7 separate regions of the Homo sapiens genome follow, and all the other regions are linked to region 1. The links are contacts of gene promoters, found by promoter capture Hi-C in human tissues and cell types (Jung and others, 2019). All regions are on one chromosome and are shown on one strand. Each heading gives the region's core, a stretch centred on a gene start or on the middle of the fragment in contact. The rest is flanking DNA. Distances are from core to core; before and after follow the strand shown.

Region 1 (3,836 bases), core at 898-3,397:
TTGTGCCACTGCACTCTAGCCTGGGTGACAGAGTGAGACTCTTGTCTCAAAAAAAAAAAAAAAAAAAATAGAGGTTGGGGTGGCGGGGATAGCTGACTTTCAACACTTTTCTTTAAAAACTAGTAGTATAGGATAAAAACAGGTATTTGTAACTTTGGAATTTCATATCTCTACTTATTTCCACCTTCTTCCCAATTAGGCTATGTGTGGGAGAAAACCAATTGTAATGATTTCCTCTGTGAGCAGGAACTTGTGATGAAACTGTGGTTCCCTCCCCCAACCAGTTAGGCAACCTATTAACAAAAAAGAGAAGTTTGGATATGTCACACCACAGCCTGCTTCTGTGAATGATTTCTTTTAAGAATCCTCATATTCTAGGAATTGTTTTTTAAACACAGTATCCAATGAAAAGGTTGAAGATTTATTTCCTCCATGGAGGGAATAGAAAGATTATTCTTATTATTTTAAAAAACCATATTGAGGCTGGGCATGGTGGCTCATGCCTGTAATCCCAGCATTATGGGAGGCCGAGGCGGGCGGATCACGAGGTCAGGAGATCGAGACCATCCTGGCTAACACGGTGAAACGCTGTCTCTACTAAAAATACAAAAAATTAGCCGGGTGTGGTGGCAGATGCCTGTAGTCCCAGCTACTCGGGAGGCTGAGGCAGGAGAATGGCGTGAACCCGGGAGGCGGAGCTTGCAGTGAGCCGAGATCTTGCCACTGCACTCCAGCCTGGGTGACAGAGCGAGACTCCGTCTCAAACAAACAAAAAAGCCATATTGAAAGTAGGAAGAGAACTAATTCTTGACATTTAAACAAAGCTGTCTCTCTATCTAGTAAGTAAGAAGTAAGTAAATGTCTTGCTCTGTTGCCCAGGCTGGAGTGCAGTGGCACAATCACAGCTCCCTATAGCCTGAAAGTCCTGGGCTCAAGTGATCCTCCTGCCTCAGCCTCCCAGGTGGGTGGGACTGCAGGTGCAGTGCAGGTGCCATCACGCCCAGCTATTTTTTTTTCTTGTGTAGAAATGGGGGTCTCATTATGTTGTTCATGCTGGTCTTGAACTCCTGAGCTCAAGTGATCCTCTCACCTTGGCCCCCAAAGTGCTGGGATTACAGGCATGAACCACCACGCCCAGCCCAAAGCTTTATTATATTAGATTTCAAATTTCTAACATATCAAAGTAGCGAAGTAGTACAGTCAACCCCCTGCCATCACATGGCTTCGACCCAATCTTGTTTCTTTTCTCCTCCCACCTACTCCCTCACTCCCATATTATTTTAGAGCAAATCCCAGCCATTTTATCTGCATCTTTCAGAATATATCTCTAAAAGACAGGAATTCTTCTTTAAAATAATGCTAATTAAAATAGTCTATGAAAGTAATATATACTTATTAGCAAAAAACAGGTTATTAAAAGTAGAAGCAAAAAGTCACCCATAGTCCTTTTGCCTGAAATAACTCCCATTAACATTTTGATATATTTCTTCACAGATGAGAAAAAATTAAGAACTTTCCCCCCTTCCCTGCCCTATAATCCAAATTGTGTGGGCAAATCTGAGATTACTAGATGTATTGGAAATCCTTTCTCTTTCATAGATAAAAAAACAGAAGTAGACAGAATTTTAAAAATAGATATACTATGGGATGGCTATTGGAGTCATGGCAGTTTTTTTTTTCTTAAATGAAAAGTACTTTTATAGAAATTGTTCTTTGAAAATATTCAGCAAATAATCATTTATTGCTTTCTATGTGCAGATCAAGTTTGTATGATAATTAAATTATTGATAACTTATACCTACGATTTTAAGAATATTTTCAACCCTTTGGTCAGATTGTCTCCAATTAGCATAATAGCAAAGAGACTTTTCAAGGTTAATATGAAACTTTTTCTCAGCTATTTTTTTATTGTCTATTTCTCAGGGGAAAAAGGAAACTTATCCTCTTAGGCAGTTTTCATAATGTTATACATTTAAAAATTAATCTGAAGGAGCTTAAAATATAAATGCATTAGGTGAAAAATAGCAGTTGATTTAAATAAAATGAAGGAGGAGAAGAAAAAGAACCTTACCGACACAAAATAGAATGAGATTGGTTTGCAGATGGCGAGCGATGTTGCTTCTGCTCGCAGTCCCCATTTCTGTGTATGCCGGGGCGGGTTGGGGTGTGTATTTGAAAGGAAAGTTGGCTTTCTTTTTTCAGAAGGGAAGAAGAGCTGAAGAGAGGAACCTCTTATGAAGGAACCATAATCAGGAACTTTTTGAAATTGTGCAAGGATGGCTTCACCATTTAACATTGAGATTTTGGCCTGGAGCACATTTAGAAATGTGCATATCTTTTTTTTTTCCATGGATTTTACAGTTGTCATAGGTGTTAGATGTTTCTGGGTGAGATTTTGATTTACACCTAGCACATATTTCCAGGAAGGAGTATTGTTTGACAAATAATTCGTACTTGGATTTTTCAGAACAGTTCAGTCACTGTCTAGGGTACCTGCTCTGGGTGCCACTCTGGGCCAGTAACTGCTGGGAACAAAGAACAGCAGAAGGAGAAGTGGCTTTGTGTAGAGATGAGAAAAGTTAGTAAACAACACATTCTAATGCAGCGAATAAATAAATTGTCTGTTATTAACTTTTTGTACTCCAGTTTTGAATCCAAAGACACCTGCCTTCCCCCCTTTTTTGACAGGGTCTCTATCACCCAGGCTGGAATGCAGTGGCAAGATTGCAGGTCATTGCAGCCTCAGCTTCCTGAGTAGCTGGGACTACAGGCATGCACCACCACCCCTGGCTAATTTTTTTTTTTTTTTGTAGATTCTGTGTTGTCTAGGCTAGTCCTGCCCTCAAGCGATCCCCCTGCCTTGGCCTCCCAAAGTGTTAGGATTACAGGTGTGAGCCACCATGCCTGGCCCAAAGACCCCCTTTTAATGTGTTGAGAAACAAATATGTGGGCCCTCTGTCCTCTGTGTCCTCTCCCCCAGCACTTAGTGGTGATTCAGTAAGGGTCTTCTTTGTAAAGCAGCAGAAACAGACTCAGGCTGACTTAAAAGGAAATTTATGCAAACATTTGAAGGTAGATCCTAGAGTCACTGGGAGGGCTAGTGAATCTTGTGTGGGGTCCACAGCCAGGAAGAATGCCTCAAATCACACCATAAACAGGTCTGAAGAGGATGCTACTGCCACTGCCAAACACTAGGTGCCATCAGCCCTGTTGTCAGCATCGCTCAACCACTGCCCCAGCCCCTTGGTCTCACTGCCATTGCTCCACCCCCAGAGAAGGAGAAGCTCACATCCCCACTACTCTGGGTCACTGGCTCTCCATTCCAGGGCATGGGCAAGTGTGCCTGGCTTAGGCTGCGTGCCAGTGCCTCAGCTGCACGGCAGGCCAGGAAAGCGGCTCCCAGGCCTTGTGTCTCTCCCAGACTCTGGGCAGGCAATTCCCCAGACATGGGAAGAGCGTCATCTGCACCACTGAAAATTATGAAAAATCTCCCCACCATGATATGATGTCTGTGCCCTTGGCATCTGCTCATGATATATTTTCTCATTAACAGAAAGTTATTCTCAGTCTGTTTTGTTTTTTTTTTTTTTTTTTTTTTTGAGACAGAGTCTCGCTCTGTCGCCCAGGCTGGAGTGCAGTGGCACGATCTTGGCTCGCTGCAAGCTCCGCCTCCCGGGTTCACACCATTCTCCTGCCTCAGCCTCCCAAGTAGCTGGGACTACAGGTGCATGTTGCCATGCCCAGCTAATTTTTTTGTATTTTTTTTAGTAGAGACGGGGTTTCACTGTGTTAGTCAGGATGGTCTTGATCTCCTGACCTCGTGATCCGCCCACCTC
Region 2 (3,836 bases), core at 784-3,283, 1.8 Mb after region 1:
GCACTCCAGCCAGGGGGAAAGAGCGAGACTTCGTCTCAAAAAAAACAAAAAAACAAACAAAAATGGGAACATCTCTTGGACTATCCACTCCCAGTGGAAGCAGTCTGTTTGGTCTTTCCATCTGAGCCTAGGAGAGAGACTTGTGTGCAGTACGTACTGAATCAACACACAGTGAATCAACACACGGTGAATAAAAGTCAAGTTGAGGAGTTACATGAAATGGTTGCCAGTGCATGTTATTTTTTATAATTTAACTTATCCTCAACAAATGGTTTAGGCCAGGCGTGGTGGCTCACACCAGTAATCCTAGGGCTTTGGGAAGCCAAGATGGGAGGATCACTTGAGGTCAGAAATTTGAGATCAACCTGGGCAACATAGTGCGACCTTGTCTCTAAAAAAAAATTTTTTTTTTTAATTAGCCAGGCATGGTGGCACATGCCTATAGTTCCAGTTACTTGGGAGGCTGAGGCGAGCGGACTGCTTGAACCCAGAGTTTGAGGCTGCAGTGAACTATGATGGTATCACTGCATTCCAGCTTGGGCAGCAGAATGAGGAATGAGACCCTGTCTCAAAAAAAAAAAAAAAAAAAAGGTTTAAGTCTCCACTGAGACCAGCCTATCTTCCTCAGCTGAAATAAAATCCACTAAAACAATGTTTTCTAGATCTGTGTCATTCTCTTATACCTATACTATAATACGTTTTTTCCAGATATATGGATCTGTTGGCTATTCTTTCATACTCTCAAAATTCACTTTTTTTTTCTTTTTACAGTTTATTGTTTGGTACAAAACAGGCTCTTTAACTCTTTGAATAAACACCTCACAGACTCGTGCTCCTAGATTACAAAAAGTCAAAGCCAATTTTCTTTGACACTGGGCTCTTGACTCTGAGATTCAAGTCACTATAACAGAAACTGGAGTTGTTTTATCTTATATTCTGGAAGGTGCCTCAACAAAGACATGTTAAGAACTGGTTAAAACTTCTAGCATTTAAAAAGATCCATCTTGTCTTCCAGTGCCTATGGATAATAATAAAAAGGGAATCCCAGAGATCTGCTATTGAATTATTTAGAGAAGAGCTACTGCAATAAGATCCACTCTTTTAAGTTCCAAAAGGAAACTTCAGGCCAGATGTGGTGGCTCACAGGTATAATCACAGTACTTTGGGAGGCCAAGACTGGAAAACCCATTATGCCCAGGAATTTGAATTTGAGACCAGCCTGGCAACACAGTGAGATCCCATCTCTACAATTTTTTTTTTAAACAGAATTTGTGGGGCGCGGTGGCTCGCGCCTGTAGTCCTAGCGACTCGAGAGGCGAGAGGATCGCTTGAGTGCAGGAGTTCGAGGCTGCAGTGAGCTATGATCGAGCCACTGTAGAGAGACCCTGTTTCAAAAGAAAAAACAAAGAGAAAGAAAGAAAAGAAAAAGGAAACTTATAGCCCAGCCAGAGGAGGAAAAACAACACCCAAAATTAGCAAGTGTTCAAGACAGCCCGGCACCCAGCTGAGACTCCCGCTGACGTGATCAGGAGTTCGGGGCTTGCTCTTTTGCCGAGGGTATTTGCTGTCCATGCGTGCCCCGCCCACCTGAGTGCCTCACGCAAGTTCGGTGACCTCTGCCCAGCCGAGAGCAGGGGAGGGTCCCGCGGCCAGGGCCCCGAGCGGCTCACCCTCCACGGCGTGGTTCACCTCTTGGATGAACAGCTGCAGCTTCATCACCAGGGTGGCTGCGTGGCCATCCGCCTTCCCGGACGCCGCCTCCTTGGAGCCGGCCCTGAAGGCCGCATTGATCCACTCCTTCACGTCGAAGTCGTCTGCCAGGAACTTGGAGAAGTCCATGGCGGAACTGCCTCAGGCCTGGCGTCCAGAACTTAAGAGTTGGCTCCGGGCGGCAACGGGGATGCAGAAGCGAGCGAGCCTGCGAGAGCACCGAGGCTAGCCTCCGAGGCGAACCCCAGAAACGCCAGGACGGGTAACTTGCCCCTTTGCGCTTCCCCGCTCAGCGCACTCAGTTTGCGGCTGGGAATGACCCTCGCCGCCCGCCGTTCTTCTTCCGGAAGTCGTTGGCCGTTACCATAGTGACTGCAGGCGTCCGGAGCGCTGAGCAGAGGTGGGTGTGGGAAAACGCCCCGGACTGAGAGCTCCCGGCACCGACAAATATCCCATGTCTGCTAACATTTGCCGAGGACTAAACTATATGCTTACTATAAAGCCCTGACATACATTAGCGCATTTACGCGGTGGCTCGCGCCTGTAATCCCAGCTCTTTAGGAAGCTGACGCGGGAGAATCGCTTGAGGCCAGGAGTTCTAGGACAGCCTGGGCAACAGTGGAGCGCAGTGGGCAGCAATGGAGTGCAATTGAACGATCTCTGCTCACTACAGCCTCAAATTCCTGGGCAATTGAACGATCTCAGCTCACTGCAGCCTCAAATTTCTGGGCTCCAGCGATCCTCCCACCTCAGCCTCCAGAGTAGCTGGGACTACAGGCGCGCGACAACACGCCCGGCTATTTCTTTCTTTTTCTTTCTTTCTTTATTTTTTTCTGAGACGGAGTCTTGCTCTGTCGCCCAGGTTGGAGCGAAGTGACGCGATCTCGGCTCACTGCAACCTCCGCCTCCCAGGTTCAAGCGAGTGTCTTGCCTCAGCCTCCCGAGTAGCTGGGATTACAGGCGCGTGCCACCACGCCCGGCTACTTTTTGTATTATTAGTAGAGATGGGGTTTCACCACGCTGGCCAGGCTGGCCTCAAACTCCCAACCTCAGGTGATCCGCCTGCCTCGGCCTCCCAAAGTGTTGGGATCACAGGCGTGAGTCACCGCGCCTGGCCTAACTAATTATTTTCTTAATGATGTGTTTTGAGGTGCAGACCTTTTAAAGTTTGTTAAGTTCCTTATCACCTTTTTTTATGGATCATGCTTTTGGTGTTGCGGCTGAGAAATCTGTGCATAACCCATAATCACAAACAATTTCTCAGCCTGGGCAACATAGGAAGACCCCGTCTCTGCAAAAAAATTAAAAATTAGCTGAGTGTGGTGGCGCACACCTGTAGTCTCAGCTACTCGAGAGGCTGGGGTGAGAGGATTGCCTGAGCCCAGGAGGTCGAGGCTGCAGTGAGCTGTGATCACGCCACTGCACTCCAGCCTGGGTGACAGAGCGAGACCCTGTCTCGAAAAGAAAAGAAGAAAAGGTAGGGGAAGGTATGAGGGTATTCTTTAGGTTCTAAGTTTTTATGTTGTTTCAAGAGTGGGACCAACCCAAGGGGGAGGACAAGATGTCATCCTTGGAAACCCTACAGGGGACAGTTTTCCAGGTTGGCCTGCCATTGGGGTATGAGTGGCTGGCTGCCATCTCCAGGCCTGATAGTCACTCGTTTTTCATTGGCATCTCCCTTGGTTTGTCTCATTCTTCTGGGTTGAGTAGGTTTTAACTGGGGTAACCCTTCTGCTAGGAGTCCCAGTTATTTGGGGGGAGGGGAGAGGAGGGAAGGAGAGAGGAGGGGAGCAATGCAGGGAGGGGAGACGAGGGGAGCAATCTGATAGTGTAAGTCCTCTTACTTTGCTCTTGTTAAAAATTTAGGCAGGACACAGTGGCTCACGCCTGTAATCCCAGCACTTTGGGAGGCCGAGGCAGGCAGATGATGAGGTCAGGAGTTTGAGACCAGCCTGACCAACATGGTCAAACCCCATCTCTACTAATAATAAAAAAATTAGCTGGGCATGGTGGCACGCGCCTGTAATCCCAGCCACTCAGGAGGCAGAGGCAGGAGAATCGCTTGAACCTAGGAGGCAGAGGTTGCAGTGAACCGAGATCCGCCACTGCACTCCAGCCTGGGCAAC
Region 3 (3,836 bases), core at 917-3,416, 1.4 Mb after region 1:
TAGGGAAATGACATCCCAGCTGGAAAATAGAAGAAACCCCTCCTGCCACCACCATTAATAATAATACCACCAGAAAGAGAATAAAATACAAATGGCCTACACAAAAGTATTTATAGCAGAATGCTGGCAATAACCTCAATACTCAGCAATCTAAGACTCACTGAACCTATTAAGATACCTCAACATTATAACAATTTAAAATGACAAAGTACATAGTTAATGCCAATATAAATTCCAGATAGAGTTTAAAAAAACAACACATACAAACTAGAAATAAGAAAAAAGCTGAATCTTTGTCAAGCCACTAGAGGGAAGAAAACTTTTTAAGCTTAAACACCATAAAGAAATCACAAAAGGAACAGGAGTAGATCTTACTTCCTAACCATTTTAAACTCTGGTATGAGAAAATAAAAATAATAGATATCTGAAGTTGAGACAATAAACTCGTTTCCCAGGTTCTTGGCAGAGGTAAGGGTGGGAAGATCTGTTCTCCTAGAATAGATGTGGACTCCTGACGAGATAAGGGGATGCCACATTGTCAACTGCACAGAAATCAAGCTCTGTGTTCAAACTGTGGACCCATTTACTGCCAGCTGTGTGAGCTGGGAGTGGTTACTTCATCTCCAAGTCTCAGCTTCCTCACCAGTAATGTGGGGAAAGCAGTAGCCTCATTATATATTGAATAAAACATCTGTTAAGGCCTTAGGATAGAGGCTAACGCAGACTCAATAAGGCAGTCTCTGGCTAGAATACAATAACCTTTGGATTCACCAAATTCACTTATAAATAGAAGCTTAGTGTTAACCCTAAGCAACTGGGGTGGGAACAGGATTTTGAGAAACTTTCAGTTGAACAAACATTACCTGGGCTCTTGCTGCATATTAAGAACTATATTGCACTGCTGGGTATAACAAGATAAAGCAAAATGTGGCCCCAGCTCCAGAGAACTTCACAGTGTGGTGGGAAGGACAGAGAAGAAAACAAATCATTTCCACATAACACGCTGGTGTGAGAGATTAACAGAAGTTAACTGCCCAGAAGAGCAGGAGTTCGCCAGCCAGCCTGCAGGTAAAGGGAGTGAGGAAAGGCTCTCTGGACAAGATAATTTAGGTATTTTTTACTGTAATGCAATAAAACTAGAAACAATCCAAACAAAAACACATACAGGGAAACGTAACAACTGGAAAAGAAACACAAACAAGCACCTGGGTCAAAGAAGAATAAGTGAAATAATAGACTATCTAGAAAATATTGTAAATATGAGTAGACCAGAGAAAACTGAATTGTAAGCTGGCATTGGAGAAAGCTGGCCAACCCAATATACAGGATCACCGAAAGAATCAGAAACTGGAGGTGCCAGAGGCCTCTGGAAGTAGAGGGTAAAGTAAAAGAGGAATTAAAATAAGGACTTTCAACAAGAGCACCAAGACCATTCAATGAGGACAGTACAATCTCTTCATCAAATGGTGCTGGGACAAGTAAATATTTACTTGTCCCAGAATGGAGTTTGGTCCCTACCTCATACAATTTATAAAGGTTAACTTAAAATGTATCAACAACCTAAATGTAAGAGCTAAAACTACAAAACTCAGAAGAAAACACAAGAGTAAATCTTTATGACCTTGGATGTGGTGACGGATTCTTAGATATGACGACAAAATTATGAGCAACAAAAGAAAAAACAGACTTCATCAAAATGAAGAACTTTTGTACGTCAAAGAACACTATCAAGAAAGAGAAAAAACCCAGAGAATGGAATAAAATACTTGCAAGTCATATATCCCATAAGGGTCTAGTATTATACATCCTTACAAAGAATTCTTACAACTCAACAAAAACAACTCAACAAAAAGATAATGCAATTTAAAATGGGAAAAAGGCTTGAATAGACATTTCTCCAAAGAGAATATATAAATGGCCAAACAAGCACATGGCAAGATGTTCATCATCATTTACTATTAGAGAAATGCAAGTCAAAACCTCAATGAAGTAACACTTCACATTCACCAGGATGGCTAAAATCAAAAAGATGAAAAATAAATGTTGGCAAAGATGTGGAGAAATTAGAACTCTCATCTATTGCTGGTGGAAACGTAAAATGATCCAGCTCCTGTGGAAAACAGTTTGGCAATTCCCAAGAAGACAACCATAGAATTATGATATGATCCATCAATTCCATTCCTAGGTACATACCCAAAAGAACTGAAAACAGGTATTCAAACAAATACTTGTACACAAATGCTCATAGTAGGACTATTCATAATAGACAAAAGGTAGGAAAAAAACAAATGCCCATCAATAGATTAGTGGATAAACAAAATGTGGTACATGCATATGTATGTATGGAATACTGTTCGGCCATTAAAAAGGAATGAAGTGGATCCGTTCCAAGATGGCCGAACAGGAACAGCTCTGGTCTGCAGCTCCCAGCATGATCGATGCAGAAGATGGGTGATTTCTGCGTTTCCAACTGAGGTACCTGGTTCATCTCATTGGGACGGTTGGACAGTGGGTACTGCCCACGGAGGGTGAGCTGAAGCAGAGTGGGGTGTCGCCTCACCCGGGAAGCTCAAGGGGTCGGGGGATTTCCCTTTCCTAGCCAAGGGAAGCTGTGACAGACTGTACCTGGAAAAACAGGACACTTCTGCCCAAATACTGTGCTTTTCCCAAGGTCTCAGCAACCGGCAGACAAGGAGATTCTCTCCCATGCCTGGCTCGGTGGGTCCCATGCCCACGGAGTCTTGCTCACTGCTAGCGCAGCAGTCTGAGAACAAACTGCGAGGTGGCAGCCTGGCTGGGGGAGGGGCATCCACCATTGCTGAGGCTTGAGTAGGTAAACAAAGCAGCCAGGAAGCTCAAACTGGGCAGAGCCCCTCACAGCTCAGCAAGGCCTGCTGCCTCTATAGACTCCACCTCTGTGGGCAGGGCATAGCTGAACAAAAGGCAGCAGACAGCTTCTGCAGACTTAAAGGTCCTTGTCTGACAGCTTTGAAGAGAGCAGTGGTTCTCCCAGCATGGCATTTGAGCTCTGAGAATGGACAGACTGCCTCCTCAAGTGGGTCCCTGACTCCCATGTAGCCTAACTGGGAGACACCTCCCAGTAGGAACCGACAGACACCTCATACAGGCGGGTGCCTGTCTGGGACGAAGCTTCCAGAGAAAGGATCAGGCAGCAATATTTGCTGTTCTGCAGCCTCTACTGGTGATACCCAGGCAAACAGGGTCTGGAGTGGACCTCCAGCAAACTCCAACAGACCTGTAGCTGAGGGACCTGATCATTAGAAGGAAAACTAACAAAAAGAAAGGAATAGCACCAACATCAACAAAAATGACATCTACACCAAAACCCCATCTGTAGGTTACCAACATCAAAGATCAAAGGTAGATAAAACCACAAAGATGGGGAGAAACCAGAGCAGAAAGGCTGAAAATTCTAAAAACCAGAGCACCTCTTCTCCTCCAAGGATCGCAGTTCCTCGCCAGCAATGGAACAAAGCTGGATGGAGAATGACTTTGATGAGTTGACAGAAGTAGGCTTCAGAAGGTTGGTTCTCTGAGCTAAAGGAGCATGTTCAAACCCATCGCAAGGAAGCTAAAAACCTTGAAAAAAAGGTTAGACAAATGGCTAACTAGAATAAACAGTGAAGAGAAGAGCTTAAATGACCTGATGGAGCTGCAGACCATGGCATGAGGACTTTGTGATGCACGCACAAGCTTCAATAGCCAATTCGATCAAGTGGAAGAAAGGGTATCAGTGACTGAAGCTCAAATTAATGAAATAAAGCAAGAACACAAGGTTAGAGAAAAAAGAGTAAAAAGAAATGAACAAAGCTTCC
Region 4 (3,836 bases), core at 834-3,333, 1.4 Mb after region 1:
GAGACATTCACCATTGCTACTGAGTGTGGATAAAACTATGGACACCAGGGTTCAATTTCTAGCTATTCTACTCTGGCTGTTTGCCCTTGGAAGTTATTTAGCATTCCGTGCCTCTGTTTGCTCATCTGGAAAATGCAGAAAACATTCGTATCTGCCTCACTCGTTTAAAAGAATCAACGTTCTTAGGACAGTACCTGGCAAGAGTAACTGCTGTTGGTTTGGTTTGAGATTCTGAGAACCACTCTTCTGGATCATTCGCACATGCTGTAGTTTGAGTGGAAGTCATTAGAGGAGTATCGCTAATAGATAATAGAAAATTGTTTCAATGGCCCCTTCAGAACTAAAGGGTCTCTCTCTTTCCCAATGTCTGTGTTAATTCCTATAAAAAGACTCAGACCCGACATGGCTTCCAGCCCTTCTGGACCCCTCCTCAGTCTTGTGGGACTGATGGGTTCAGCACTCACATGCCCCACCCTGACTGTAAGAGCATGGGCCTTGTAATCTGTAAGAGCCCAGGCTCAAGACATCCCAAAAGACTCCTGTCTTGCTCTGAGTCTGTGCTGCTGGGAGGTGAGCGGAATGCAGTGACATGGAAAAGAAATGAATGGAGCAGAGGGGAAGTGGAAGAGAGGAGTGAGAGGAGCTTGAGTTGAAGTGGGAGGGATGGGGGTGGCCAACAGGGGGAGAGAGGAGGGAGATGGGATGGGATAGGATGAAGGGAGGAAGAGAGAAGTGGTGAAGTGGGGTAAGATGGGACTTATCTCCTGACCAAGCACACGTCTACCCCTGACATAGTCATCTAAACATGGAATCAGGGGATGATGATTTGGGGAGGGGACTTCAAGGTTGTCCTCCTTAGTAAGATCAACAAGAGGGAAGAGAACAGCCACTGTACAGGTAGGTGCAAGTATGGATCCCTCTGAGTGTACCTTTTGGTGCTTACCTACTCAAAGCTCACCAAGCCCTGTGCTTCCCTCTTCCTCAACCTGCAGAGCATCTCCCAGAACCCAGCCATGCCCTTAAACATTCCACGAAGACCTTAGTGAAGCACTATGACTTTCAAGCTTTGTTTTCATCCAGTCATTAGTGGCAGAGGCCACCAGGCTCCCACAGTGAGCCTTCATCAGTGGGAGTCAAATCCCAGGCATCAGGTGAGGACACTGGTGATTAGGTGACTTCCTCCTGTCCCACAGCCAGTGTCAGAACCTTGTTGAAAATCTACATATTCAGATTCCCAATTTAAATCATGTTGGAGATGGGCTGACAACTGAAGTGGGAAATAGACTCCAAGAAAAAAAAAAAGAAGTCTGTAAATCAGTGCCTTGCTACTCCTCAGCCCAGGGGAGCTACTCCCACGTCAGGACATGCCCTCCCTTTCCCTCTCCCCAGACAGAGCTCAGGGCACCCCACAGAGGGTCTCTGAAGAGGGAATGCCAGATTGGAATCCTCAAATATCTGGGGAGCTGGCCAGGTCTTGGCATTCCAGGGTCATAGATTCACTAATGACTCCCGTTGTTGAGCAGAGCTTGGACTGGTGGGCAGAGTGCTAGGAGGCATAATAGCAAGCAAGGTGGGCCAGGCGTGGTGGCTCAAGCTTGTAATCCCAGCACTTTGAGAGGCCAAGGCAAGTGGATCACCTGAGGTCAGGAGTTCAAGACAACCCTGGCCAACATGGTGAATCCCAACTCTACTAAAAATACAAAAGTTAGCCAGATGTGGTGGCATGCACCTGTAGTCCCAGCTAGTCAGAAGGCTGGGAAATACCAAGCGATTCAAGAGAATCGCTTGAACCCAGGAGGCAGAGATATACCTAAGAAGTCCAGAAGTGGATGCTTTGGATATAAATACAGGTAGGTGATATAGAAAAAAGACCCAGACAAGGAGATGTCGATGCTCATGTTTCATCATCAGATTTCTGCCTCTCTTCCTCCATCTGCGGCCTCTGATTTTCTGTGTTTAATTTATTCTCAGGCACACTACTTCTACGTGGTGGGGAAAATGGCACTTGGAAAATTCAGTTTCAATGGTCCTTTCAGAGCTACAGCATCTGTCTCTCAATGTCTATGTTAATTCCTCTAAAAGGACTCAGACCTGATGTGGCTCCCAGCCTTCTTGGACCCCTCCTATCTGTGGTACTGATGGGTACAGAACTCACACACCCTACCCTGGGTGTGAGTAAGAGCATGGGCCTTGTAATCTTGGCTTGTTTGGAAAGAGGAAGGGGAAATTCCAGAAGTGAAGGTCATAACAGTTTTCTGTCAGATGGGGTGGTGGCTCAAAGCAGAGGTTATGAGCCTGAGTATGTAGCTCCATCACCCAGTGTGAACTTGGGCAAGTCCTTACCTTTTCCCCTCTGCATCCTCTCCATCCACTTCCCTCACTGACATTCCAAAACACACACACACACATACACACACACACACACACACACACATTTTTATTTTAAGACAATTGTTGATTCACATGCAGTTTTAAGAAATGCTAGAGATCACAGACCAGGCACAGTGGCTCATGCCTGTAATCCAGGCACTTTGGGAGGTCGAGGCAGGTGGATCACTTGAGGTCAGGAGTTCGAGACTAGCCTGGCCAATGTGGCGAAACCCCATCTCTACTAAAAATACAAAAATTAGCTGGGAGTGTTGGCATGCACCTGTAATCCCAGCTACTCAAGTGGCTGAGGCAGAAGAATTGCTTGAACATGGGAAGCGGAGGTTACAGTGAGCCGAGATCGCACCACTGCACTCCGGACTGGGCAACAGAGTGAGACTCTGTCAAAGAATGAAAGAAAGAAAAAGTAATAATAGAGATCACAGAGCACTTTACTCAACTTTCCCCATAGTAACATCTTGCATACATGTAGTACAATATCACAACCAGGAAATTGACATTGATACCATCCACCAATCTTAGATTTTGCCAGCTTTACATGCACTCATGTGAGCTTGTTTGTGTGTTTAGTTCTATGTAGTTTCATCATGTGCACAGATTTGTGTGGCCACCGCCACAGTCAAGATCTACCACCAAGAGGTCTGTTGTGCTGTCCTTTTATTGCAACATCTACCTGCCTCCCTCCCCTACTCTCTGATCTGCAGCGATCATTAATCTGGTCTTCATTTATAATTTTGTAATTTCAAGAATGCTATAGAAATGGAATCATACAGTAGGTAACCTTTCAGGCCTGGCTTTTTCTTTCACTCAGCATAATTCCCTTGAGATCCATCCAAATGGTTGCATGTATCAATAGCTTGTTCCTTTTTATTGCTGACTAGTAATTCATAGTATGGATGTTCCACTGTTTAACTGTTTGCTTTTTGAAGGACATTTGGATTGTTTCCAATTATTGGCTGTTATGAATAAAGCTGCTATGAACGTTCATGTACAGGCTTTCGTGTGAATGTAAGTTTTCATTTCTCTGGGACAAATGCCCAAAAGTATAATTGCTGGGTCGTTATGGCAAACATATATTTAATTTCGTAAGAAACTGCCATATCTTTTTCAGAATGGCTGTTATATTTTACATTGCCACCAGCAATGATTGATTGATCCCAGTCCTCCACATCCTCACCAGCATTTGGCATTATCTCTATTTTTTTATTTTTACTGTGCCAATAGATGTGTAATGATATCTCATTGTAGTTTAACTTGCATTTCCCAGTAGCTAATAATGTTGAACATCTTTTCACGTGGCTCTCGCCCACTTTTGTAAGGAGGTAAAGCTTGAGAATGTTTTCTCACCTGATAAATGGATAGAACAATAGGACAATACCTACCATCCAGAGATGTTGTGAAAGTTCTCCTAAGCACCTAGCAAATGAGTATTCAAGAAACATTAGGGT
Region 5 (3,836 bases), core at 766-3,265, 1.3 Mb after region 1:
TCTCAAAAAAAAAAAAAAAAAGAAAGAAAAGAAAAGGAAAAAAGAAGTTAGAAGGGTGGAGCTTCACTTTAGTGCACAGATGGGGGAATAATGTGATACTTTGGAGATCACTGGATTTGGTCAGCATTTTCCAAACTGGTAACAAAAAGAGATGTTAATTGGTGCTTCACAGCTCTATAGTCAAGTAAGCTTAGAAAATCTGTCCTCAATTCCTTTCTTGGATATTCTTTAGTGTATTGAAGGATATTGCAAAGGAATCTGTTTAATGGCAAGTCAAGTCAATTTCCTTGTGCCAGGGAAGACATTTATTGCAACAGCCCCTGTAGAATTTGGGAAGTCTTTAAACACAGTTTAAATGCGCTGTTACACTTATGTAATTTCATCTATTCCTGTCATACAGGCCAACACCTGATTACCATATATGCCACAGTCACGATCTAATATATCCAGATTTCTAAGAAAATCCAGCCAAAGAATTCTATTCAAGTGCCCTTGTGATTGTTTGCACATAATGCAAACAATGTACTCAATACTACTTTTTTTAATTAGTTCTACTCAATTTTTTAAAAATTGTTTTTTAATTGTCTACTCAATACTAACAAATGCTATTAATTGTCCTACTCAATACTAATAAATACGATTTCAACTTTCAACCAAAAAGGGTCTACATAGACTTTGGGCCTAGAAGAAAAAGATCAGTTGTATCAGTCTAGCAATGAATTAGAAGGTTCAAGGCGCCAATGGGTGGGTTTGCAGGAAAGGTAGAAGGGGAAGGGATCTAAGCACAGGTGGATGGGTGAGCCCTTGCATACCTTGTTCTCGGAGACTAGCAGGAGGGGCTCAGGATGGTTGCACATAAGGATTAGCTTTAAGATGGAGGAGAGGCAGGTTGAAGGAGTTGAGGTGTTAGGTTGAAAGCTTATGCCTTTCTAGTGTCATGGGTGACTAGCTGCATGTTAAGGGTGGATGAAAGGATTCAGGCTGGGAGTGTATGATGAGAATTTGAAACATTTACTATGAAAAATGATGGAAAGGGCCTGAAAAGACAAATATAAGATCACTGAGCAGTACTGAGGGTTCAATGGAAGCTAGAATCCATGAACATATTAAGGATATATTTGTAAGTGACAGCAATTTTCTCCAGTGCTGTTTGGCAACCCAGGGACAGAACTGGAAAGGATAAAAGGCTGGAAGGATGCATTATTAGAGACTGGGGAGAGCAATTAGAACAGGAAAATTGATGAGGATGAAGATGATGCTATTGAAATGATTGTTCATTGGGTACAGAGAAGGTATGGAATAAAGTGAAATCAAGAGAATCCCAGATGAATTTGAAAATGGGTATAAGAAGTTTGAGACTGTGGAAAAGGTAGAAAGGGACAAGGTTGTAATCTGTAGTTTCCTGTGGCTACCATAACAAATTACTGCAAACTAGGTGGCTTAAAACAACCAAAATGCATTATTTCACAGTTCTAGAGGATAGAAGTCTGAGACCAAATTGTTAGCAGGGTTGGTTCCTTCTGACTGCTCTGAGAAGAATCTGCCCTGTGCCTCTCTCCTAGCTTCCGGTGGCTGCTGGTGGCAATCCTAGGTGTTCACGTCTTGTAGACATCTTACTTCACACTCTGCCTTCATCTTCAGGTCACCGTATTTCCTGTGTGACTCTTCTTCCCTTCTCTAACAAGGACACTCGTCATTGGGTTTATGGCCCACTCTAATCCGGGATGATCTCATATGCAAGTCCTTAACTTAATTACATCTGCAAAGACCCTTTTGCCAAATAAGGTCACGTTCAAATGTTCTGGGTGGGCTGGGTGTGGTGGCTACACCGTAATCCCAGCACTTTGGGAGGCCAAGGCAGGTAGATCTCTTGAGCCCAGGAGTTCAAGACCAGCCTAGGCAACATGGTGAAACCCTGTCTCTACAAAAAATACAAAAAATAGCTAGGAGTGGTGGTGAGTGCCTGTAGTCCAAGCTACCTGGGAGTTCTGAGGTGGGAGGATCACCTAAGCCAGGGGAGTTTGAGGCAGCAGTGAGCCCTGATGGCACCACTGTACTCCAGCCTGGGCGACAGCATAAGACTCTGTCACGCACACACACAAAAAACCCCAAAACAGAACAAAGGTTCTGGGCGGACATATCTTTTGGAAGGTCACCATTCAAACCTCTACATAGTTTTAGAGTGAAATTTCTGAGTTAACCATTTCAGAGTTAGGGAAATTGCAATGACATGACCCAACGTATGGCCATGAAAAAGAGTTGGTGAAGGGAAGAGAAAATGGAAATACTTGGAGTGTCAAAGGTCAAAGAACTGCGAGGCCAGGGTATTGGGTGGAGATAGTGATAGGAGCCAGGAAGCAGAAAGCTAAGAACCAGGAGTTGATATTCCAAAGGATGTGAGAATGAATGTTCTGGGGGTTGGTAAATCATAGTGTTAGTGATGCAGGGCAGGCGAGCCTTGGGGAGTTCTTGGCTTTGCCCAGGAAACAATTCAAGGGCAAGCCGGTGTTGTTAGACAAGCAACTTTTATTGAAGCAGCAGTGTACAGCAGAAGCAGAGGCACTGCTCCCTGCAGAGAAGGGCTACCCTACAGGGGTGTTGTATAGGCAGTGTATCCAGTGTAGCAGCTCGGAGGCAGCTCTGCAGTCATATTTATACCCACTTCTAATTACATGCAAATTAAGGGGCAGATTATGCAGAAATTTACCACCCTACAAAAAGGGTGGTAGCTTCCAAGTCATCAGGTTGTTGCCATAGAAAGGGATGGTCACCTCGGGGCGTTGCCATGGCAATGGTAAGCTGACAGGGCACACAGGTGGGCGTGTCTTGTGGAAAGCTGCTTCTTCCCCGCCCTGTTTTAGCTAGTCCTCAATTTGGTCCTGTGTCCAAGCAAGCCCTGCCTCCGGAGTCTAGACCCGCCTCCTACCTCATTAGGATTGGGAAAGGTGTTTCTCAACTCTGCCTTCCCATTAGAATGAGCTGAGGAACTTTATAGAAGTATATCCCTTCCCTGAATATTTTGAATCAGTTGTTCTAGGACAGAGCCCAGACATGTTTATTTAAAAAAGAAAGAAAGAAAGAGAAGAAAGAAAGGAAGGAAGGAAGGAAGGAAGGAAGGGAGGGAGGGAGGGAGGGAGGGAGGGAGGGAGGGCGGAAGGAAGGAAGGGACTTCTCGGGTAGTTCTAACGCGCAGCCAGGATTAAGAAAAATGCACGTAAGGGTCAACTATGACCTTCATCAAGAAGTAGCGGTTGGGAACCAGGGATGCTCCCGTCCATCAAGGCCTGAATGAGATGCTCCTGGGAAAGAGACTTCAGTGCTTCCTCCCACATCCCTTAAGGTCTCAAGCAGAGCCAGGAAATTAAAAAGCAAGGGAAAGAGAGGTTACATAGCCTGACTCCTGACTGAGGTCCCAAGCAGCCTGGAGTTCTGTGCTTGTTCAAGCCTACACAAAGGATGTATTTCAAATGTTTTTCAGCAGAAGACGTCAGAACTCATATCTAAAACAGTTGCTATTCCTGCAAGACAAGACTTTTTCCCCAAAAAAAGATTTTCTTAATATATTTGGAGAAATATCTTTTGCCAGAACAATATTCAGTGGCTTACTTTGTAATTTTTGAATATGTAATAAATGCATTAAAATTTTCAAGCAGCTTAAAAGGTTATACAATAAAAAGTAATTCTTAGCCAGGTGCAGTGGCTTGTGCCTATGGTCCCAGCACTTTGAGAAACCAAGGCAGGAGGATCACTTGAAGCTTGGAGTTTGAGACCAGCCAGGGCAACATAGTGAGACCCTATCTCTACAAAAAATACAAAAAATAAGCCAGGCATGGTGG
Region 6 (3,836 bases), core at 764-3,263, 1.1 Mb after region 1:
GACTGGAGTACAGTGGCACAACCTCGGCTCACTGCAACCTCCGCCTCCCAGGCTCAAGCGATTCTCCTGCCTCAGCCTCCCGAGTAGCTGGGATTACAGGCGCCCACCAACACGCCCAGATAATTTTTGTATTTTTAGTAGAGACGGGTTTTCACTGTGTTGGCCAGGCTGGTCTCGAACTCCTGACCTCATGATCCACCCACCTCGGCCTCCCACAGTGCTGGGATTACAAGCGTGAGCCACCGCGCCCGGCCAGCATGTCTCTAAATTTTAAAGATGCGTATATATTTGTGGTAAAAATACTGAGATATTCACGGGAAAGATCCACACCAACTTCAGGGTTATGCTTACATCTGAGGCGGAAGGTCGGGAGGAGACTAGGGCGGAGTATGTGCCTGGGGTGACTTGTGCTTTACCTGTAACATTATAGATGTAAACAAATCTGAATCAGATAAGGGAAAATGTGAACACTGGTACAATTTGAGTGCTAGGTACACAGATGGCTATAATCTTATTTACTTTATGTTTGAAATTGTTCACAAATAAAAACGTCAGAATTTAAATGATCACTATAAAAATACCTTCCGAGCATCCCCTACCCAGGAGAGGCTCCCATCTCAAGCCGAATGGCCAGTGTGGACTCGGCCATTTGGAAAGGGATGCTTGCTGGCATTTAAGCTTGAGGCCAGGCAGACAGAATGTAAATTTATATCACACACTCCGACGAAATCAATAGAGGTAATTTCCTGATTCAAACCCATAGATGTGCGTAGAATCATCCAGATCTACAGAGAACTATACACATGGAGAGGGAGCTCAGGGGGGCAATTTAGGGCCTGAATTATTCAGTGTCTGTCTCACGTCGCTGTCACTTTGGGCTTTAGTTGGGGCGTGGTGGAGAAACATGAATTCTGTTGCCGGACTGGACTCAGCTCAGATGCTCTGACAATAAAGACCTGTGATGAATGATAATTGCGTTTTCTCTGCATCAGTGTATGGAAATCTGTTTATAGATTTGGATTACAAATTCTGGAAGCTTTATATGTTTAATGATTTTTTTTCACCGACCTTAAAGTGCTCTGTACTATTTCAACCATGACTCTGCTTAAATTCAGGCCACTGCTGAATTAACTCTGATTTTGCCCTGTGGAATTAACTTTTGTGATTAAGTCAAACTGGAAATGCCACTTATCCCACCCCCAAGTTCTTCTTATGATTTAGAAAACAGGTTGGGAAGGGAAAAGACAGACATTTGGGAAAGAATGGTGAATGGCTGTTTTTCTTCCTTAGGCTTATAGGAGCCCTGTGATTCTAGACTTCATAACTGAAATCCCTGTTGAGCACAGAGTAGTCCATTGGGTCTCATTTGTGTTTCTCAAAGACCGAAGCAACTGGCCATGAAGTTCAGTTCTAATAGGATTAAAAAATACAGCAGCAGGTAGATGGCTACAATATCAAAAGGTGCTGAGTGACATACACATTAGAAAAAGAAAACTGAATTAGCAGTGACATTTTTTGGCCTGAGGGCTTTTTTTTGGACTGTGGAAATAAAGACACACTTTGATCTATTCTACTTAGAACCTGACAAAACATCAAGGCCAGAATATTGCCTCTAATCTTATTAGTCATTTCCAGACTGTATCCCTTCAGCTCCTCTGTTCCTTGCAGATAAGGCTGTGTGTTTCTCTGAATGGACATTTTATGCTTCTGTTACAACAACCCCAGAAGGGAAGTCATGCTGGGCACTCGTAAGGGGTCTCGTGATTGTTGTGGGAAGCAGCTACTGGATTGGCCGTGACTCTGTTAGATTCATGAGATTTAAGTGTTCTTCCTCAGTGTGGAAACACCATCGCCAGAGGAAGTGAAATGTAAAAGATGGCAGGGAAATGACAGGCAAGTGAATATAAAATTATAAAAGACGCAAGCAGCAAAAACTCTCCTGTTGGCTAATAAAATGCTTCATTATTTTCTCAGAAAAAAAAGTAATGAAATGGGACCTACCATTAGACACAATCTAAAAGTGTTTTTTTACATTTTGAAGATAAAAATTATGCCGCAGGCATTCAAGCAAGAAAACAGTTACCTTTGAAAACAAACACAAACACAAAAGGAAAACAAAACAAAATATATATTTAAAAAAAGAATCTGGCAGGCTCAGACCTTTCTGCTTCAGCGACAAACACTGTCACAGACTGAAGTGATGCCTCTACAACTTTGAGAAAAGAAGATTGTAACTCGATATGCATCCAAGTTGGTATTCGGGTATGAAGAAAACAGAAAAGCATTTCAGAGATCCTCTTGTCAGGAGAAACAGGATTGCAAAGATATCCAAGTGAAAAGACCTCAGCATGTAGGACTTTGAAGCCCGCAGTAAGCGTCTGGAATTTTTTCTATGGATTTTAAGCAAAGGAGTGATGTGATTCAATGGATGTTTTAAAAATATTAATCTAGCTTGCTGGGTAAAGAACAGACTAGAAGGCTAAGTGTAGGAGTGGGCATATGAATGAGGGGGTTTTGCACCCACCAGGTAAGAAATGATGAAGGCCTGGACTGGTGCAGTGATTGTCAAGAAAAAGAAGTAGTTGGATATGAGACCTCTTTTCCAGGAAGACTGCATAATAGGAATTGTGGATAAGTTGCCTTGGAGGTGGGCTGGGGTAGTGAAGGACTCAGAGAAGCCTTCAGGTTTTAATTGTGAGTACTGGGAAGCTGGTGTTGCAACTTACGGAAGTGAGAAGGACTAGTGAAGGCATAAATTTAGGGTTGAAGATCAATGGACTGGTTCTGAACCAGTTTGAGAGACTGAAACTTCAGTGAGGCCAAGGAAGTAATTGGACATGCAAGTGTGGAATCATGAAAGATGTTCCCAGCTCCATACCTTTCTGTGCATCCGCTACTGACCCCTACTGATCCCTCACATTCTCCCAAACCTTCCCATTGACCCTCTAGGGCTCCTATACTGTGATCAATAAATGCACCATCCTTCAAATATTACCTCATCAGTGAAGCATGTCCTAATCCAATATAAAGCAACATATTTCCCCTCCTTGGCCATCACCATCTGGCTTACTTTCTATGTTTATTTGTTTGTTTGTTTCGCCACACTAGACGGCAAGTCCATGAGATCATTGACTTTGTTTTGTTCACCAGTGTATCCCTACAGTCGAGAACAGTGCCTTGCATGATTGGGTAGATGCCCAATCAATATTGTTGCTGGTGACTAGAAGCCCAATAATCTGGATTTTAGCCTCAATTATAACGTCGTGAAACTTCCCTGAGATTCTTCTTAGTTGTGAGGTGGGGATCTTAGTGTCTGCCCTGCTAGCTCATGGAGCTGCTGTGACCATCAGGTGAATTATTGGACCCCATGGCTTAACTGCTAGAAAGATTTTGACATTTTCACAGGCCATGGCCTCATGCCAAAAATGCGAAGCAGACTGCATGAAACTCAATAAGGGGATGTTTGACAATTTTCTATATGATTTCCATGGGGGGAAAATGGGGTGGGGGATGAGGGCCCTAAAGAAATGAGCGTGTTCTCATAGGGAGTTCTCTGGTGAGTTCTGATCTTAAAATGATCAGTACATAAAAGATAGAAAGAGGTGCTTAAAACTAAAGGTGAATACAAAAGAGTGGTGAGCATGGACAAGAATGGTCTCGGGGAGTTTGTGGCAAAAAAAAAAAAAAAGAGCTAAGGCTTGCAAAAATGTTAAGGACGAGAAGAATTGATTTGGGGGCACATTTGAAGCAAGAAGATAAATTACAGGACCGCGCCAACACATGACAGATTAAAAGCAGCACTTGGGTTTTAGTTTGTTTCCGGCAAAGAAAATGCT
Region 7 (3,836 bases), core at 673-3,172, 1.1 Mb after region 1:
AGTTCTATGTGCCTGGCACTGTGATAAGCATTCTATATGTTTGAATGTGCACAAACTTTTATGAGATAGCTACCGTTATTATCTCCATTGTACAGATGAGGAAACTGAGAATCACAGAGAAGAGGAGGAATCAGAACTTGAACCATGGCAGACAATCTCAGGAGTCCATAATATCTTAACTGTGATACTATAAATGCGTGTCAACAGAAAGCAAATCTTTCTGTTTCTTTTAAAAAGTTGGATATTTTGACTTTTGGAGTAAATATTCCTAGGGTCACTGATTTTTCACTCACTGGCTCTTGCTTTTTTGCAACAGTTAAAGTCATAATCAATTAAATTATTTAGCATATACACCTAATCTGTTCCAGGAGCTCTCTACACTTTAGGGATATAAAAATTAGGATAGACTTGGTATTCTAGTGAGTCTAGAAGTTCACAGTCTAATAATAAAGATGTAAACAAATGACCACAGCAGGCTGCAGATTGGATTATATAAAAATATAACTAATAATAACATAGCAGATAACATTTGTCGAGCACTGACAACATGCTAGACATTGTGTTAAGTACTTTACAGACATTATCTTGCATGAGATTCTACAGATGAGGAAACTAAGGCTTAAAGAACCATCCCCTGCCCACGGTAGTGCTGCCAGATGAAATTCAAATTTCAATTAAACTTGTCCCATACTTATACCGAAAAATTATTCATTGTTTATCAGAAATTCAAATTTAACTGTGTATTCTGTATTTTTAGTTGCTGAATCTGGCAACCCATGTCCAAGGTCACCTTTGAACCCAAAGCTGTTTCACGCTGGAGATGAGGCTTGCCATCCCCACCACACACTGTACCTAAAACACCCACACAACCAACAGGCAGCATGCTTTCAAATGCCCCTTGGAGCCGGGTAATCTTCAGACCTTACTGGCCTTCTAGAGTCAATGCACCAGAATGGTATAGGCACTCAGAGAAATTAGCGGTGTGTGTGTGTGTGTGTGTGTGTGTACAGAGATGGAGACAGGAGGTAAGGGGGAATCTTGCCACCTTTGCCCTCCAGGTGCCGAGGAGACAGCAGCTAAGCAGCAAAATGAGTGCTCATCTCTGGGCTGCTCCTTCCGGAGGGAAATCAATGATTTAGTTAAAGCCTCGCCTGCCCAGTGCTGCGGATTGGGGCCATCCCGAAGGAGCTGCTCTGCAGAGCCTTTTTATAAACCGGCATCAATTTACACTCCAAATGAAGTCCTAATAAACTGCTGCCGCAGCCCTGCCAGGAGTAGGCCGGGTAAACACTTCCTTTTAATAAAACACGTGCACACTGGTCTCAGCAGGGCTGGAGCTTTTGTGCACACAGCGTCGGAGCCTGGACCCAGGGGCCTGGGGGAAGAATCCCTGCACAGCCCATTGGTGTAAGTTCATCTGTTCTCACTCGCCCAGGTCGCTGCTCCTGGTCTTTAGATTCCCAGTGTGGGAGAAGCCTTAGATTTCCACCAGGGCAATCCCACATTGGATGCTGCTGGAACTCTAGTGTTTCCCAACAATCCGTCCACCATTCCTCACCGCTTTCCTTGGGGGAACAGTGAAGCCATGCTTGTTAGGAACTCTGGTCTAGAGTCAGGAAGTTTGAATTCACGTACAGATTCGATCTCTTGCTAGCTGTGTGACCTTGAGTGTATTTACTCAGCTTCTCTGTGCTTTGTTTTATCATTTATAAAATAAAGATAATAGCATCTACCATTTAAAGTTGTTGCACAGTGATTGGCATAAATACTTAGTTACAACTGTTATTGTGATTTTATTACTAAACTGGCTTTATATATCATGATGTGACATTGTTAGCACATAATGAGTGCTCAGTAAATGGTATAGTATTTGTATTATTATATTTAATATGATTACAAGAATTGGTAATCCATATCAGAAAAACCTTTATAACTTTGAGACAAGGTTATGTTGCTATAAATTCTATCTGTTGTCCTAACTCCATCCTCCTGAAACTAAACAAAACAAATTTAATCCTAACAACCTTCACATATTTGCCCCACTCCCAAATGTGTCCTAAATTCTGTTTCATTTAGGTGAAACTGCACCAATTACTTCAGCTACTGATCCAAAGATGCCCTAGTTTTTTTCCTAGGAAGCCTCATGTTTAAAATGAGGAATCAAATACTTATCTTCCAGGAAGGCCTAAGTTAGTGCTCATTAAAGCTCTAAGTTTGTAGCACAAAGTAAGTACTCTTTCCTTCTGCCTCCCACGTGAAAACAGAGCGTCCTAGTCCCACCTCCCGAAAGCCAGCCTAGCTAGTGATTATGACTGGGGTAGTTTGCCTGGGTGCAAAGCTGGCTTCATCAAAGCCGTCTGACCTTGGGCAAGTTATGTAACCTCTCTTTGCTTCACATATGTCACCTGTAAGATGGCAATAATAACACTGTGTGCTTGTGTTGATTTGCTGAGACAATCCGGGTAAAGCATGTAGCACAGTGCCTGGTGTACAGTAGGTTCTCAATCCATCTTGGGCGATTATTATTCCAAGTGAGCCACACAGAACTAAAGGTAGTGCTCAAGAGGAGAGCACTGTTTCTGCCTTAGTCCTTTTGTGTTGCTGTACAGGAATCCCAGAGCCTGGGTAATTGATAAAGAAAAGAGGTTTAGCCGGGCACCGTGGCTCACACCTGTAATCCCAGCACTTTGGGAGGCCGAGGCGGGCGGATCACGAGGTCAGGAGATCCAGGCCATCCTGGCTAACATGGTGAAACCCCGTCTCTACTAAAAATACAAAAAAATTAGCCGGGCGTGGTGGCGGGTGCCCGTAGTCCCAGCTGCTCGGGAGGCTGAGGCAGGAGAATGGCGTGAACCCAGGAGGCGGAGCTTGAATTGAGCCGAGATCGTGCCACTGAACTCCAGCCTGGGCGACAGAGTGAGACTCCATCTCAAAAAAAAAAAAAAAGAAAGAAAGAAAGAAAAGAAAAAGGTTTATTTGGCTGATGGCACAAGAAGCACGTACAAGAAGCATGATGCCAGCATTTGCTTCTGGTGAGAGCCTCGGACTGCTTCCACTCATGGTTCAAGGGAAAGGGAACTGGTGTGTGCAGGGACCACATGGTGAGAGAGGAGGCAAGAGAGAGGGGAGGGAGGGTCCAGGCTCTTTTTTAAATAACCAGCTCTCATGGGAACTAATAGAGCAAAAACTCACACCCCTCCTGCCCTGCATGGAGGCCATTCAACTATTCATGAGGGATCTGTCCCCATGACCCAAACACCTCCTGCCTCCAACATTGGAAATAAAACTTCACCCTGAGATTTGGCGGGTCCAAACATCCAAACTGCAGCAGTTCCCTAACCCTTTCTTTGGTCCAGCATCAATCCACCCTCGTTGGCCATTCCAGCATCAATCTGCCCTCGTTGGCCATTCCAGCATCAATCTGCCCTCCTTGGCCATCTTCTCCCACTGTCGACTTGTTTCAAGCTTATAGTCTTTTCTACACAAGCCATCACTAAGTGTCAACACTCCTACCTTATCCTCTACCACCTGTTATTTCCTTTGGGCTCAAATATAGTCCTTCCCATTAATCTGTATTGAATTTCATCTTGCTAGCTTTGTGCCATGATTCCAATTGTTCAAGAAGCTTTTGGATGCTCCGTCTGTCACCAAACACTGGCCAGCACTCCTAGTGTCCTGGCTCACAAACAAAGTGGATGTTATAAAACCTGGAGGAAGAGCCAGAGCTTGTAGTGGACTTCTGTTGCTCCTGCCTGCCCAGAATTCATGCCCAGTTTTTGCTAACTGCCCTTCAGTATTTCTTTAGTAAACCATCCCTTTCCCATGGAATGTGGTTT

Evidence for each region. The method cuts DNA at HindIII sites, captures the fragments that hold promoters and counts their contacts. A contact is called where the count stands out against the background at its distance.
Region 2: the fragment with the promoter of COG7 here is called in contact with the fragment with the promoter of IGSF6 in region 1 in 1 of the 25 tissues and cell types used here (small bowel).
Region 3: a fragment that was not itself captured here is called in contact with the fragment with the promoter of IGSF6 in region 1 in 1 of the 25 tissues and cell types used here (lymphoblastoid cells).
Region 4: a contact is called between a fragment that was not itself captured here and the fragment with the promoter of IGSF6 in region 1, in 1 of the 25 tissues and cell types used here (dorsolateral prefrontal cortex).
Region 5: a fragment that was not itself captured here is called in contact with the fragment with the promoter of IGSF6 in region 1 in 2 of the 25 tissues and cell types used here (dorsolateral prefrontal cortex and lymphoblastoid cells).
Region 6: a fragment that was not itself captured here is called in contact with the fragment with the promoter of IGSF6 in region 1 in 1 of the 25 tissues and cell types used here (dorsolateral prefrontal cortex).
Region 7: a fragment that was not itself captured here is called in contact with the fragment with the promoter of IGSF6 in region 1 in 2 of the 25 tissues and cell types used here (H1 embryonic stem cells and lymphoblastoid cells).

Annotation. Positions count from the first base shown.
Region 1 is chr16:21,650,461-21,654,296 of GRCh38, forward strand. IGSF6 (immunoglobulin superfamily member 6) reads right to left here and starts at 2,148. Exons shown (of 6, transcript NM_005849.4): 1 at 2,072-2,148. The coding sequence starts at 2,138. All of the region lies in intron 4 of METTL9 (methyltransferase 9, His-X-His N1(pi)-histidine), which reads left to right. The HindIII fragment of the contact is 6,081 bases long and covers 49-3,836 here.
Region 2 is chr16:23,451,156-23,454,991 of GRCh38, forward strand. COG7 (component of oligomeric golgi complex 7) reads right to left here and starts at 2,034. Exons shown (of 17, transcript NM_153603.4): 1 at 1,671-2,034. The coding sequence starts at 1,839. It overlaps LOC124903667 (a long non-coding RNA gene), which reads left to right and starts at 1,588. Exons shown (of 2, transcript XR_007065030.1): 1 at 1,588-2,110. RefSeq lists enhancers at 1,694-2,023, 2,314-2,363. The HindIII fragment of the contact is 22,477 bases long and covers 1-3,836 here.
Region 3 is chr16:23,091,493-23,095,328 of GRCh38, forward strand. All of the region lies in intron 6 of USP31 (ubiquitin specific peptidase 31), which reads right to left. Among named protein-coding and RNA genes, the nearest start is that of USP31, 56 kb to the right of the region's middle. RefSeq lists an enhancer at 2,104-2,650. The HindIII fragment of the contact is 3,212 bases long and covers 561-3,772 here.
Region 4 is chr16:23,020,992-23,024,827 of GRCh38, forward strand. LOC112268176 (a long non-coding RNA gene) reads left to right here. Exons shown (of 2, transcript XR_002957913.2): 2 at 1,972-3,372. Among named protein-coding and RNA genes, the nearest start is that of USP31, 130 kb to the right of the region's middle. The HindIII fragment of the contact is 4,514 bases long and covers 1-3,836 here.
Region 5 is chr16:22,910,034-22,913,869 of GRCh38, forward strand. All of the region lies in intron 1 of HS3ST2 (heparan sulfate-glucosamine 3-sulfotransferase 2), which reads left to right. Among named protein-coding and RNA genes, the nearest start is that of HS3ST2, 98 kb to the left of the region's middle. The HindIII fragment of the contact is 4,508 bases long and covers 1-3,836 here.
Region 6 is chr16:22,780,817-22,784,652 of GRCh38, forward strand. No RefSeq gene overlaps it. Among named protein-coding and RNA genes, the nearest start is that of HS3ST2, 31 kb to the right of the region's middle. The HindIII fragment of the contact is 5,109 bases long and covers 1-3,836 here.
Region 7 is chr16:22,733,297-22,737,132 of GRCh38, forward strand. No RefSeq gene overlaps it. Among named protein-coding and RNA genes, the nearest start is that of HS3ST2, 79 kb to the right of the region's middle. The HindIII fragment of the contact is 3,246 bases long and covers 300-3,545 here.